3 separate regions of the Homo sapiens genome follow, and regions 2 and 3 are each linked to region 1. The links are contacts of gene promoters, found by promoter capture Hi-C in human tissues and cell types (Jung and others, 2019). All regions are on one chromosome and are shown on one strand. Each heading gives the region's core, a stretch centred on a gene start or on the middle of the fragment in contact. The rest is flanking DNA. Distances are from core to core; before and after follow the strand shown.

Region 1 (4,746 bases), core at 1,176-3,675:
GGCCCAGGGTCCCCAAGCTGTGTGCAGCCTAGGGATTTGGTGCCCTGTGTCCCAGCTGCTCCAGCTGTGGCTGAAAAAGGCCAATGTAGAGCTCGGGCTGTGGCTTCAGAGATTGCAAGCCCCAAGCCTTGGCAGCTTCCATGTGGTGTTGAGCCTGCAGTTGCACAGAAGTCAAGAATTGAGGTTTGGGAACCTCTGCCTAGATTTCAGAAGATATATGGCAACACCTGGATGCCAGGCAGAAGTTTACTGTAGGGGGAAGGCTCTCATGGAGAACCTGTGCTAGGGCAGTGTGGAAGGGAAATGTAGGGTTAGAGCCCCCACACAGAGTCCCTACTGGGGCACCGCCTAGTGGAGCTGTGAGAAGAGGGCCACCATCCTCCAGACCCTAGAATGGTAGATTCACCAACAGCTTGCACCATGAGTCTAGAAAAGCTGCAGACACTCAACACCAGCCCACGAAGGCAACCAGGAGGGAGGCTGTACCCTGCAAAGCCACAGGGGCGGAGCTGCCCAAGACCATAGGAACCCACCTCTTGCATCAGCATGAGCTGGATTTGAGACATGAAGTCAAAGGAGATAATTTTGGAGCTTTAGGATTTGACTGCCCCACTGGATTTCAGACTTGCATGGGCCCTATAACTCCTTTGTTTGGCCAATTTCTCCCATTTGGAATGGTTGTCTTTACCCAATGTCTGTACCCCACTGTATCTAGGAAATAACTAACTTGCTTTTGATTTTTTTTCTGTTTTTTGAGACAGAGTTTCGTTCCTGTTGCCCAGGCTGGAGTGCAATGACACGATCTTGGCTCACCGCAACCTCTGCTTCCCGGGTTCAAGCGATTCTCCTGCCTCAGCCTCCCGAGTAGCTGGGATTACAGGCATGCACCACCACACCCGGCTAATTTTGTATTTTTAGTAGAGATGGGGTTTCTCCATGTTGGTCAGGCTGGTCTCAAACTCCCAAGCTCAGGTGATCTGCCCGCTTCAGCCTCCCGAAGTGCTGGGATTACAGGGTGAGCCACTGCGCCCAGCCAGTTGCTTTTGATTTTACAGGCTCATAAGCATAAGCGACTTCCTTTGTCTCAGACAGGACTTTGGACTGTGGACTTTTGAGTTAATGTGAAATGAGTTAAGACTTTGGAGGACTGTTGGGAAGGCATGATTGGTTTTGAAATGTGAGGAGATGAGATTTGGCAGGGGTGGAATGATATAGTTTGGCTCTGTGTCCCCACCCAAATCTCATCTTATAGTCCCATAATTCCCACATGTTGTGGGAGGGACCGGGTGGGAGATAACTGAATCACAGGGGCAGTTTCCCCCATATTGTTCTGTGGTAGTGAATAAGTCTCAGGAGATCTGATGCTTTTATCAGGGGTTTCCGCTTTTGCGTCTTCCTCATTTTCTCTTGCCACTGCCATGCAAGAAGTGCTTTTTGCCTCCTGCCATGATTCTGAGGCCTCCCCAGCCATATGGAACTGTAAGTCCAATTAAACCTCTTTTTCTTCCCAGTCTTGGTTATGTCTTTATCAGCAGCATGAAAACGGACTAATACAGGGGAGGGCCAATTAAGACCACGAGTTTGAGACCAGCCTGTGAAACACAGCAAGACACCATCTCTACAAAAATAAAAAATAAATCAGTCAGGTGTAGTGGTGTAGACCTGTAGTATGGGAGGCTGAGGCAGGAGGATTCCTTGAGCCCAGGAGTTCAAGGTTACAGTCAGCTATGATTGCACCATTGCACTCCAGCCTGGGCAACAGAGCAAGACCCTGTCTCTAAAATCATTCAATCCATCAATCAAGTCCCAAAATATACAGCAAAAATGGACAGAGTTAAAGAATGAGGCCAGGCACAGTGGCTCATGCCTGTAATCCCAGCACTTTGGGAGGCCGAGGTGGGTGGATCACTTGAGGTCAAGCCATTGCACTCCAGCCTGGGTGACAGAGACTCCGTCTCAAAAAACAAACAAACAAACAAACAAACAAAAAACAAAACCCCCAAACCAACTAGAAAGAAAAGAGCAAAGCGACCCCAAAGTAAGAAACCGAGAGTCAGACCTTCCTGGGCGCCCAGGGATCTCACGGTTCCCTCCTGATCTCCCATTTTGTGACTGGCTTTCCCAAGGGTTCCTGCTGAAGCCCCTTCTCCGTGGTCAGCTCTGTGGTCTGCACGGGGCTGAACTGCCCTCCTGAGCCATCCTGACCCTGGGCCTGCACACACTTGGGGACGGAGAGGGAAGAGGTACCCAAGAAGTCCCCAGTGCCGACTGACCCCAAGCTCCGAGGTCCCAGCTGCTCTCTGGGACTCTGTCCCTGGGACCCCTCTGCCAGCGCCCTTCGACGCCCGAGACCCCCACTGTCCCCAAGACCCTCACTATCCCCGCGACCCCGGTGGCGGTTGGGCGCGCCTCGCGGCCTCTCCCAGCTTCTCCTGGGCCGGCGCCATGAGGCCTGGGCCCGCTCTCCTCCTTCTGGGCGTGGGCCTGAGCCTGAGCGTCGGCCGCCTCCCGCTGCCGCCGGTTCCTCGCGGGGCACAAGCCGCCGTCTCCGGGGCGCCCGGTGGCCTCCTCAGGGGCGCCCCGGGCCTCGGGGTGCGCGGCGGCCGCGCCCTCCTCAGTCTGCGGCCCAGCGCGGTGCGGGCGGGCGGCGCTGTCCTGAGCGGCCGCGGCAGCCTCTGCTTCCCCCATGGCGGGACCGGGCGGCGCTGGTACTGCCTCGACTTGCGCGTCCTGCTCAGCGCCCAACGCCTGCCCTGGCCGGCCGCGCCCGCGCTCGCGCTCGTCGACCTGCAGCTCTCCGCGCGCGGCGGCCGCCTCTCCCTGACGTGGTCCGTGCGGCTGCCGCGCTCGCCCGGGCGCCTGGCCTGGGCCTTCCGCCTGCGGCTGCTCGGACCCGGCGCCGCCCGCCCGGCCTCCCCCGCGGCCCGCGTCTCCCCGCGCTCCGCCGCGCCAGGCCCGCGGCCCCAGCAGGGCTTCGTGGCCCGCACCGAGTGCCCCACAGACGGCCCCGCGCGCGTGATGTTGCAGGCCGTCAACTCGTCCAGCCACAGAGCCGTCGAGTCGTCCGTGTCCTGTCAGATAAACGCCTGCGTCATCCAGCGCGTGAGGATCAACACGGACCAGAAGGGCGCCCCCGTGCGCCTGAGCATGCAGGCGGAGGCCACCATCAACGCCTCGGTGCAGCTGGACTGCCCGGCCGCGCGCGCCATCGCCCAGTACTGGCAGGTGTTCTCCGTGCCCGCCGTGGGTCAGGCGCCCGACTGGACGCAGCCCTTGGATCTGCCCCAGCTCGAGATCAGGAACAGCCCCTTGTTCATTCACATCCCCAATAATTCGTTACAGTGGGGAGTGTATGTGTTTAATTTCACGGTGTCCATCACCACAGGGAACCCCAAGATGCCCGAGGTGAAAGACTCGGACGCCGTCTATGTCTGGATCGTCAGGAGTTCCCTGCAGGCGGTGATGCTTGGCGATGCCAACATAACAGCTAATTTCACAGAGCAGCTGATTCTGGACGGGTCCACGTCCTCGGACCCAGATGCGGACAGCCCGTTACAGGGACTCCAGTTCTTTTGGTACTGTACCACAGATCCCAGAAACTACGGTGGGGATCGAATAATCCTGGGGAGCAAGGAAGTCTGTCACCCCGAGCAGGCCAATCTGAAATGGCCCTGGGCCTCGGGCCCTGTACTGACACTTTTGCCAGAAACACTTAAAGGCGACCACGTGTATTTCTTCAGAATGGTGATTCGGAAGGACTCTAGGACAGCGTTTTCTGATAAGAGGGTCCACGTGCTCCAAGGACCAAAAGCCATAGCACACATCACATGTATCGAAAATTGTGAGAGAAACTTCATTGTCTCTGATAGATTTTCTTTGTTCCTAAATTGCACAAATTGTGCAAGCCGTGATTTCTATAAATGGTCAATTTTGTCTTCTTCAGGTGGTGAGATGCTATTTGATTGGATGGGGGAAACTGTAACAGGAAGGAATGGTGCTTATCTGTCTATAAAAGCTTTTGCTTTTCGGCATTTTTTGGAAGCTGAGTTTTCGATTTCTCTGTATCTAGCATGTTGGAGTGGAGTGACCTCGGTCTTCAGGCATTCTTTTATTATTAACCATGGCCCTCAGATCGGAGAATGCAAAATTAATCCAGCTAAAGGAATTGCACTTATTACTAAATTTGTTGTCCAGTGTAGTAATTTTAGGGATAAGCACGTCCCTCTTACATATAAAATAATTGTTTCTGATTTGCACAGTGTTGGTGAAATCAGTTCAGTAAAAGAGAACACCCTGGGGACCATCCTGTACTTGGGGCCTCAGTCCACAGTACCCCCTTCCTTTCTCCCTGTTGGTATGTTGGCTAGTCAATATGGCTTGAAGATATATGCCCAGGTCTATGATTCTCTAGGAGCTTTTTCTCAGGTGACTTTGCATGCCACCGCACAGGCTCCCACTGACAAAAATTCATCAAAGACAGTGTTGAATCAGTTACTCAGTTTCACCGTGGGACCAAGTTCATTGCTGTCTACTTTGATTCAAAAGAAGGATTTTTTACCTGCAGGTTACTTACTGTATATAGTAGCTTCCGTTTTGAATAACATGAAAACTGAATTACCTCTCCGAGATGACAGAGTCAATCTCCGAAAACACCTCATCGATCAGTCTTTCCTTCTTCCTGTAAGCACTTTGGTAGAAATTGGCCAGGTAGTCATGACTATTACCAAATTAACCCAGAAACCCTCT
Region 2 (4,746 bases), core at 1,666-4,165, 52 kb before region 1:
TGCAAATTCCTCCCCAAACATGCCAGCTCCAGGACACCATCTTCCCTTAGTCCCTTTGTTGTGCTAGGATCTGCAGGCCTGCTCATCTGATAACATTTCGTATCTTTTCCTATTAAACAGAAATTCTGTGAGAGTAGGTCTGTCTTATCATGATGTCCCTTGTCCCCCAAAGCATTCCAGCACAGAGAAGACACTCAGCAGAACAGCTTGTTCCTACAGCAGGACTCAGAATGCAGTTTCTGGGAGTTGCAGGCTGCCTGTGCTGGCCGGCACTGCCAGAACTTAAAATCCTCAAGCACCCAGAGGGCAGATCTGCCTGACAGAGGAGGCCAGGACGCTCCTCTCACCTTAAGTCAGCTCTGAGAACTTTCTGCATTGCACACAATTGTTCAAGAAATTCATGAAAACTTTACAAACACCCACCCACTAATGGCCAGACACCTGCTGGGGCCAGTGGCCTCACTGACTGGAGAAGGCAGTGGCTGGAGCTCAGGAGGCTGAGGTGGCTGCAATCTGAGGGCCAGAAACTAGAGAGGAGGGGGCTACTCCGACAGAACGAGCTCTAGGAACCCAAGGGAATCTCGAGTCTCTGGCTGAGCACCAGGCAGTGCACAGGTGCAGGGCAGGAGTCCTCAAGGTCAAGAGAAGAGCAACTACCAGGGAGCAACGAGCGGAGCTCACAGGGCCGAGAAACCGCCGTCTTACCAGGGAGCAACGAGCGGAGCTCACAGGGCCGAGAAGGTGTCATCTTGCAGCAGCAGGAGTGCAGGGGTCTCGCGGGCCTTGCGGGACACACGGGTGTGCAGCAGAGGCCTTGGGAAGGACGCCGGTGGCGGGAGGCGGAAAGGCTATGCTAGACCCACCACTTCAAAGCATAAAAAGCCTCGGAAGGATGATCTGCACCTTAACTGCCTGCCAAGCCCAACCCAACTCCTCAGAGAAAGACAACAAAATCCAGACATTCAAAAGTGTACACCTGACAATATCCAACAACCAAGAAAAACTTGTGAAAAATGTAGAGGCAGGAAAATGAGGCCAAAACCCGGAAACAAAATTAGTCAGTCGAAACAGACCCCAAAATGATGGGGAAGATGGTATGAGAAGAATCGTAGACCCTAAAACCATTATCAATTTGCTCACGAGGATGTAAAAGAAAACCCAAGTACCATGAGAAGAAATAAGGGGAAACTATTATGTTAGAAACAAAGTTAACTGGATGGGCTTCACAGCTGTTAGGCACTGCAGAAGAAATGATATCTGACAACAGAAACTACCCAAACTGTAGCTCAAGGAAAAAGGCTGGGCCGGGCACGGTGGCTCACACCTATAATCCCAGCAGTTTGAGAGGCCGAGATGGGTGGGTCACTTGAGGTCAGGAGTTCCAGACCAGCCTGGCCAACATGGCGAAACCCCGTCTCTACCAAAAATACAAAAAAAAAATTAGCCGGGTGTGGTGGTGGGCACCTGTAATCCCAGCTACTCGGGAGGCTGAGGCAGGAGAATTGCTTGAACTCGGTAGGTGGAGGTTACAGTGCGCTGAGATCGCGCCACTGCATTCCACCCTGGGTGACAGAGCGAGACTCCGTCTCAAAAAACAAAAAACAAAAAAAAAGAAAGAAAGAAAAGAAAAAAGATAAGAAAAAGAAAAAAGGCTGAAATAAAAAAAAGAACAGAGCTTCGGTGTCCTGTGAGACAACGTCAAGAGGCCTGAAATAGATGTGATTAGAGTCCTAGGAAATAAAGTGGAAAGAGGAAAAGATAGCTGAAGAAATAATGGCCAACGTTTTCCAAATTTGCTGAAAAAAACCAACCCACAGATCAAAGAAGCTTAAGAAACCCTCAGCGGGATAAAGGCAAAGAAAGCCACCTCAAAGCACATAATAATCAAATTCCCGACAGTAACACTAAAGAGAAAACCTTACAAGCAGCCTACGAGCATTGGGGTGTCACACACACAGGAACGAACGTAAGACATTCAGGGAGCCTCCAGTGACCCCCCAAAACAACGTGGGCGAGAAGACAGCGGGTCACACCTGAAAGCACTGTTGGAGGAAAGAACTAAAAACACCATCAATGCCATCAATAATTGTTTAAAACTTTAAATGCAATTTCTTCAGTATTTTTTAAAGACACATTAAAATGTATCTATTACTCACCAATAGAAAACTTAGGAATTTTAAATTGATTTGTAGGAGTAGGCATAACCTTTGTCTTGGAATTTAGACAGGAATCTCGCCGTCTGATACTTCTAGTCTTATTCAATTGAGAAGATTCTGACCAAGCGCAACTGGAGTTCAGCCACTGGCCGCCACCTTCCGGAGTCTGGGGTTGGGTGGGGGATGCTGAGGGGGGTGCCGTGAGCTGCTCCGCTGCCAGCTCAGAAACATCGACCCGCTTGGCCTGCCAGGAGGATGCCCCCACAGGGCCTGCAGGCAGAGCTGGCCGCAGCATGGCGGGTCCCATTCTGCCTGACTTGCTGATGTTTGACAGAGGCCGGGAGCTATTTGCAGGAATACTTGCAAATTCACTTGATTTAGCTAGAAGGTATACACACAAAAATCACATTATTATAAAAGTATGAAGCTATTTAACAAACACACAGAAGTTATGCTGTCTTTAGCATATCTACCTTAAACATAAGACACATTAACAATATTCTATAAGCCCTTCAGGCAACATCATCAAACACAGGATGGCTCAGGCAGCTTTTAGCTTAGCTGAGTGTATTCTAAGGTACTTATTCTCAAAATAATTACTAACATGTACATAAGCATGCATAAATTCAAGCTCTCCTATCTTCGTTGATTATGTTGGCAGGAGAAATCTACATTAGTTGAGCAGATGGAAGGGGATAGTCTAGTCACATGTCTCACCTGTCTGGTCACAGAGGTGGGCAGGGAACAAGGAAAAAAGACGCAATTGTTACTGGTTGATTCCTTTAAAATTACAAGGAGGCTGCGTCATATTAACCATAAGCACTATTTAAAATAGAAGACCAGATAAACTAGGGTAATACATACTGAGCTACCAATATACGCAGACGATCTGGTAAAGGATTCTTAAAGAAAAACTTTAGCCCAGGAGTGGTGGCTCACGCCTGTAATCCAAACACTTTGGGAGGCCAAGGCAAGAGATCACTCAAGGCCAGGAGTTCGAGACCAGCCTGGCTAATATAGTGAGACCATCCTCTCTACAAAAAACACAAAAATGTGGGCCAGGCGCAGTGGCTCGTGCCTGTAATCCTAGCACTTTGGGAGGCCAAGGCGGGCGGATCACGAGGTCAAGAGATCGAGACCATCCTAGCCAACATGGTGAAACCCCGTCACTACTAAAAATACAAAAATTAGCCGGGCGTGGTGGCAGGTGCCTGTAGTCCCAGCTACTTGGGAGGCTGAGGCAGGAGAATCACTCGAACCCGGGAGGCAGAGGTTGTAGTGAGCCAAGATTGCGCCACTGCACTCCAACCTGGCAATAGAGTGAGACTCCATCTCAAAAAAAAAAAACCCACAAAAATTAGCCGGGTGTGGTGGCATGTGCCTGTAGTCCCAGCTACTCAGGAGGCTGAGGTGGGAGGATTGCTTGATCTCAGGAGGTCATCACCTCAGTCTATAAAGATAAGGACACAAACCTCTCTTAATCACAGAATGGCAGAGTCAGAATTCCAGATCAGATCAATCTGATTAGAGAGTTCACACTTATCATTTTTTTTTTTTTTTTTGAGACGGAGTGCAGTGATGCAATCTCGGCTCATGGTAACCTCTGCCTCCCGCGTTCAAGCCATTCTCGTGGCCCAGTCTCCCGAGTAGCTGGGACTACAGGCACCCGCCACCATGCCCGGCTAGTTTTTGTGTTTTTAGTAGAGACAGGGTTTCACCATGTTGGCCAGGCTGGTCTCAAACTCCAGGGGTCAAGCGATCCACCCATCTTGGCCTGCCAAAGTGCTGGGATCACAGGCGTGAGCCCCTGCGCCCGGCCCACTTTTTACATTTTGTGAACACAATCCACACCATGCTGCCCTGAACGACCCCGAGACGCCACATGGCCAATGCACCTCGAAGAGGATTTCGCTCTGAAGAGCAGAAAGGCGAAGGCTTTCCCTTACCACTAGATGGCAGCTGTGGCTTGGCAAGGTTGAAATGTGGCTTGACCTCAAACAGGTGTGGGAGCATGGATTTAAACAGGCACCCAGGAGTTATGGGGCCATATGCCCTACATTATCTGGAATAGTCCTATTTTAAAACTGGTGTCTCATGACATGGACATGAGGGTGATTCCAGTGTCCATGTTCTCAGGCACGGGGTATCATACATGCTTTCTGGCCATGTGTACCCCGTAGACTGAAGCCACCCATCTGAGTGTGCCCTCCTCATGGGACAGAGGCACTGAGGGCAGGTACAGCAACTCAGTCCACAGCCTGGTCCACCGCACACAGCACGCCCTCCGGGACGTCCTGCCAAGCCTAAGTGGTTCTGCAGAAACAGTCTCCAAGGCCTGAGCAGCACTCCAGGCCTCACCTGGCCAGATGTGGGTCCAAGCATGATGCCGGCTGCCTCACCTTTGCCCACTGCTGGGGATGTGCACGCACTGGATGCCCCGCTCCAAACAGGCCCCGAGGAGGACTTCCTTGCGAGATTGCTGGTAGAGCCGGGTGCTTTTAACAGGGTCTTCTTCAGCCCCAACTGGGGCAAAATGTGAAAAAACAGAATCAGCAAAGATCTCGTTATTTACCTATTACTTGTGTCTGCA
Region 3 (4,746 bases), core at 1,557-4,056, 35 kb after region 1:
TCCCATGCCATCTGCATGTAAACCCAGTGGCCTGCCATTTCCTGAAGATCTCGTGGTGGAAGAGGTGGCTGGCCATATTATTTGAAGCCAACATGCTCAGAAGGGATTACATGTGTGGGAGAGCCGGGGAAAATGAGCACAAACACTGCTGTTGGCTGAAATTTACATCTGCGGGTAGAGCAGGAAAGTGACAACATCTGAGAGATCTCTCTGATTATAATGTGGTCCACAGCTCATGCAGACACAGGTCAATAATGCAGTGGGCTAAGGTGTTATTTCTTTTTTTTTTGAGACAGAGTTTTGCTCTTGTTGCCCAGGCTGGAGTGCAATGGCACAATCTCGGCTCACTGCAACCTCGGCCTCCCAGGTTCAAGCGATTCTCCCGCCTCAGCCTTCTGAGTAGCTGGGATTACAGGCATGCGCCACCACGCCCAGCTAATTTTGTATTTTTAGTAGAGACGGGGTTACACCATGTTGGTCAGGCTGGTGTCGCACTCCTGACCTCAGGTAATCTGCCCACCTCAGCCTCCCAAAGTGCTGGGATTACAGGGGTGAGCCACCGCGCCCGGCCTACAGCGTTATTTCTAATCACTGCTGGAACAGTGGAGCCCAAAGCGCAGAAGCATCCCAGGATTTAAAGAATGCCCCCTGCCAGTGGGCAAAACACAACCACTGACAATGCTTCTGACACACAGCCTGAAGTGTTTCCTGTTTCTGGACTCACAGCACAAAACTGTCTTCAGGGCACCGGTGGAGGTGCCGATAACCATCACACAGATGGTATGGAATGTTTCAACAGAACCAGGACTTGCAACATAATGCTGGACAAAAAGCCCTGATTCTGCATCTGAGGAAAGGGGATATTTAAAAAATTACTCACAAATGAGTGAAAACATTCTGAATACAATATTCAGAGCCAAGTTTCTAAATAATCTCAAGTCCGATTAATAAAGACTGAAAATGATCTCTCTCCAAGACCTTAAAAACAGTTCTGACCATTGTTTGTTAAAGTTTGGAGATAATTCTGCTTCACAGAAAGCTGAAGCTCAGATTTAAGGAATTAACATTTCTAGGAGGGGCTAGATAATTTTTTTTTTTTTTTGAGACAGAGTCTTGCTCTGTTGCCCAGGCTGGAGTGCAGTGGTGCAATCCCAGCTCATTGCAACCTCTGCCTCCGCCTCCTGAGTTCAAGCAATTCTCCTGCCTCAGCCTCCCGAGTAGCTGGGATTACAAGCACACATCACCACGCCCAGCTAATTTTTTGTATTTTAGTAGAGACGGGTTTCACCTTGTTACCCAGGCTGGTCTTGAACTCCTGAGCTCAGGCAATCTGTCCACCTCAGCCTTCCAAAGTGCAGGCCAGGATTACATGCGTGAGCCACTGTGCCCGGCCTCTAGGAGGAACTAAATAAATATTTTTCAAGGATCGATGGCAGTATTCCCTCAATTCCAGAAAATAGACTCTTAGGCCACCGTCACTTTATTCAAATCACTCAATCTTTCTAAAGTACATTCAGCAGAAATAAAGGTGTTAAATAATTTTTTTTTTTTTTTGAGATGGAGTCTCGCTCTGTTGCCCAGGCTGGAGTGCAGTGGCGTGATCTTGGCTCACAGCAAGCTCCGCCTCCCGGGTTCATGCCATTCTCCTGCCTCAGCCTCCCCAGTAGCTGGGACTACAGGCGCCCGCCACCATGCCCAGCTCATTTTTTTTTGTATTTTTAGTAGAGACGGGGTTTCACCGTGTTAGCCAGGATGGTCTCGATCTCCTGACCTCGTGATCCGCCCACCTCAGCCTCCCAAAGTGCTGGGATTACAGGCGTGAGCCACCACGCCCAGCCAATAATTTTTTTAAAAAATGAGTTCTGTTTTAAAAAAATAAGAAACACTGAGTTGAATGAAGTTGGGCCTCCCTAGCTGAGTCTTTAACATGATAAATGTGCAGTCTTCCAGAATGAGAATGAGGCTAGGATAAGCAGGGGTTCCTACAGTGTTTGATTACAGAATGCTTGGTGTTATTTATTGTTTTTTGGTAGAGCATCTCCCAGGACAAATGCAGGCCTGGCTACGTAATTTACAGGACCCAGAGCAAAAATGCAAATGTGGGACCCCTTGGTTTTTCTTTTTTGAGACGGAGTCTCGCTCTGTTGCCCAGGCTGGAGTGCAGTGGCGTGATCTCGACTCACTGCAACCTCCACCTCCCAGGTTTGAGTGATTCTCCTGCCTCAGCCTCCTGAGTAGCTGGGATTACAGGCACCCACCAACCACGCCTGGTTAATTTCTGTATTTTTAGTAGAGATGGGGTTTCACCATGTTGGTCAGGCTGGTCTCAAACTCCCGACCTCAGGTGATCCACCCGCTTCAGCCTCCCAGAGTGTTGGGATTACAGGCGTGAGCCACCACACACTGCGGGACCCCTTGTTCAAAGATGATTATGAATTTCAAGAAGGCAACAGCGGAGCATGAACACCCAAGCCTGGGCCTTTCTAGGCTGGGGGCATCGTTAAACAGCTTGCATGCCCCTGAGGCTCACCGTGGACTAGTTCTATGGGGATGTACTCTCGTAAATGAGGACTTCTGTGGTAACAAATATCTCATTTCATTTTTATAAAATTATCACTTTGGTTTTAGAAAGTGGGCCTCATTTAGCAGGGAGAACTGGAGACCACTGAATTCAAAATGAGTGGTACCATGAAGAAACCAATGTTTATTAAAGCTAAAGAGAAATGCTGTTGAAAAACACACTTGCAAATTCGCTAAACTTTATGGATAAACATTCTTGGTGAGATCATTTTACAAAAAAATCTATGCAGCAGCTTATATTTAACTTTGGAATATGCCTTTTATACTCAAGCTTGACTATGAATATATCTGACACGACAGGCAGTCATTTCAAATAAATGAAATAAAGCACATTATAAAGGTTTTAAACAGCGTGAGGCAGGAAGCTGCCTAGATTTTCCCCAATCACTCCATGCCGAGAGCAGAACGCCCCGCTTGCTGCCACACTGGTCCCGGCACACACTCATGTGGCCTACGAAGCTCAATGATATCACTCATGAGAATTCATCTCTGTTAGCAGCTGTCATCTTTTTGCAAAAAATTAAATGTGGACCAGGCGCAGTAGCTCATGCCCGCAATGCCAGCACTTTGGGAGGCCAAGGTAGGTGGATGACCTGAGGTCAGGATTTCGAGACCAGCCCGGCCAACATGGCAAAAGCCCGTGTCTACTAAAAATACAAAAATTAGTCGGGTGTGGTGGCTGGCACCTGTAATCCCAGCTACTTAGGAGGCTGAGGCAGGAGAATCGCTTGAACCCAGGAGGGGGAGGTTGCAGTGAGCTGAGATTGCGCCACTGCACTCCAGCCTGGGCAAGAGAGTGAGACTCAGTCTCAAAAATAAATAAATAAATAAAAAATAAATGTGAAGCACTGGTAGAACTGCTTTGGATGAAATTATTTAATAAGCTCTCTTGGTTATGTTTTACTATACATTTGTAGAAATGGCATAAAATATGAAGCACATTTTTTAATCTAAAGAAAACTTAAGTAGTAGGTATAATATTGGACTGTCACACGGCAGGCAACACCCCAAGACATGGTATAAGGTCATAGCTGTTGAAAGGAGCAGTCCTGTTATAACACGGCACCCTGGAGGTCACCCTTATGCCCAGGCTTCTGAAATGTTAAGAATAATGTTGGAATTCCTCTTTCAAAACTGGTCTTAAAAACCATGTTCAGCTGCATGTCACAAATTAGTCTCCTTGCTCAACTTTTTTTTTCTTTTTTCTGTTTTCTTTTTTTGAGACGGGGTCTTGCTGTGTCACCCAGGCTGGAGTACAGTGGCGCAACCACAGTCCACTGCAGTCTTGACCTCCATCCTCCTGCCTCGGCCTCCTGAGCGGCTGGAACCACAGGCGCACACCACCATGCCCAGCTAACTTTTCATAGAGGAGGTCTCACTATGTTGCCCAAGCCGGCCTTTCTTATTTTTTTAAACAAGACGTTTTACTCTGTTTAATCCCAACTTGCATGCCAGTCTAGCTACAATGGACTCATGGTTTGTCTAAAATTCAGTTCTATTCTCAGAGGGTAAAATCTTCCATAACTGAAGCTATTCAAAGACTTTAAGATAATCCCCAACAATTTGGAGCAATAGGAGAATCTTTGAAAAAATAACACGGCACGCCCAATTCCTACTTTCTTCATTTGAACTGAGTGTCAGTTCTGATATGTTTGTTAGATTAAAAAGTAGCAGGACAACGTTATTATCACCTTATAGTTTGAATTTCTAAAGTCCACATATTCAGTGCTAAAGAATTATTTGGTTGTTTAACTGAACACCACACTCATTTTTTGGAAGGTGCAGTTTGCTTCTTAAGCCCAAAGCAGCTAAGCCTGAGCAACAGTAAGTGTGTGTGTGAGCATGTGTGTGCACGTGTGTGTGAGCATATGTGCACACATGTGAGTGTGGGTATGCGTGTGAGCATGTGTATATATATATATGTGTGCATGCTTGTATATGTGTGGGTACGTGTGTGGGTACATGTGTGCATAAGGTGAGGGTATGTGTGTGCATATACATGCATGTGAGCATGTATAAGCACATGTGTAGTTTGTAAGTGTGTGTGTGTATGCATCTGTGTGAATGCATGTGTTTGTATGTGTGTGTATGCATGTGTGTGACTGTATGGGTGAATGTGGATTTGTGTGTGCCTGGGTGCATGTGTGTGAGCATGCATGTGTGTGT

The links. Contacts are between HindIII fragments. The study calls those that stand out against the background at their distance.
Region 2: a contact is called between a fragment that was not itself captured here and the fragment with the promoter of PKDREJ in region 1, in 1 of the 25 tissues and cell types used here (H1 embryonic stem cells).
Region 3: a contact is called between a fragment that was not itself captured here and the fragment with the promoter of PKDREJ in region 1, in 4 of the 25 tissues and cell types used here (IMR-90 fibroblasts, bladder, liver and 1 more).

The regions. Positions count from the first base shown.
Region 1 is chr22:46,261,022-46,265,767 of GRCh38, reverse strand. It overlaps PKDREJ (polycystin family receptor for egg jelly), which reads left to right and starts at 2,425. Exons shown (of 1, transcript NM_006071.2): 1 at 2,425-4,746. The coding sequence starts at 2,446. The HindIII fragment of the contact is 11,288 bases long and covers 1-4,746 here.
Region 2 is chr22:46,313,823-46,318,568 of GRCh38, reverse strand. GTSE1 (G2 and S-phase expressed 1) reads right to left here. Exons shown (of 12, transcript NM_016426.7): 6 at 4,556-4,679; 7 at 2,157-2,537. Among named protein-coding and RNA genes, the nearest start is that of GTSE1, 19 kb to the right of the region's middle. The HindIII fragment of the contact is 7,099 bases long and covers 1-4,746 here.
Region 3 is chr22:46,225,915-46,230,660 of GRCh38, reverse strand. The region is part of intron 7 of PPARA (peroxisome proliferator activated receptor alpha); the gene reads right to left. Among named protein-coding and RNA genes, the nearest start is that of CDPF1, 22 kb to the left of the region's middle. The HindIII fragment of the contact is 6,822 bases long and covers 1-4,746 here.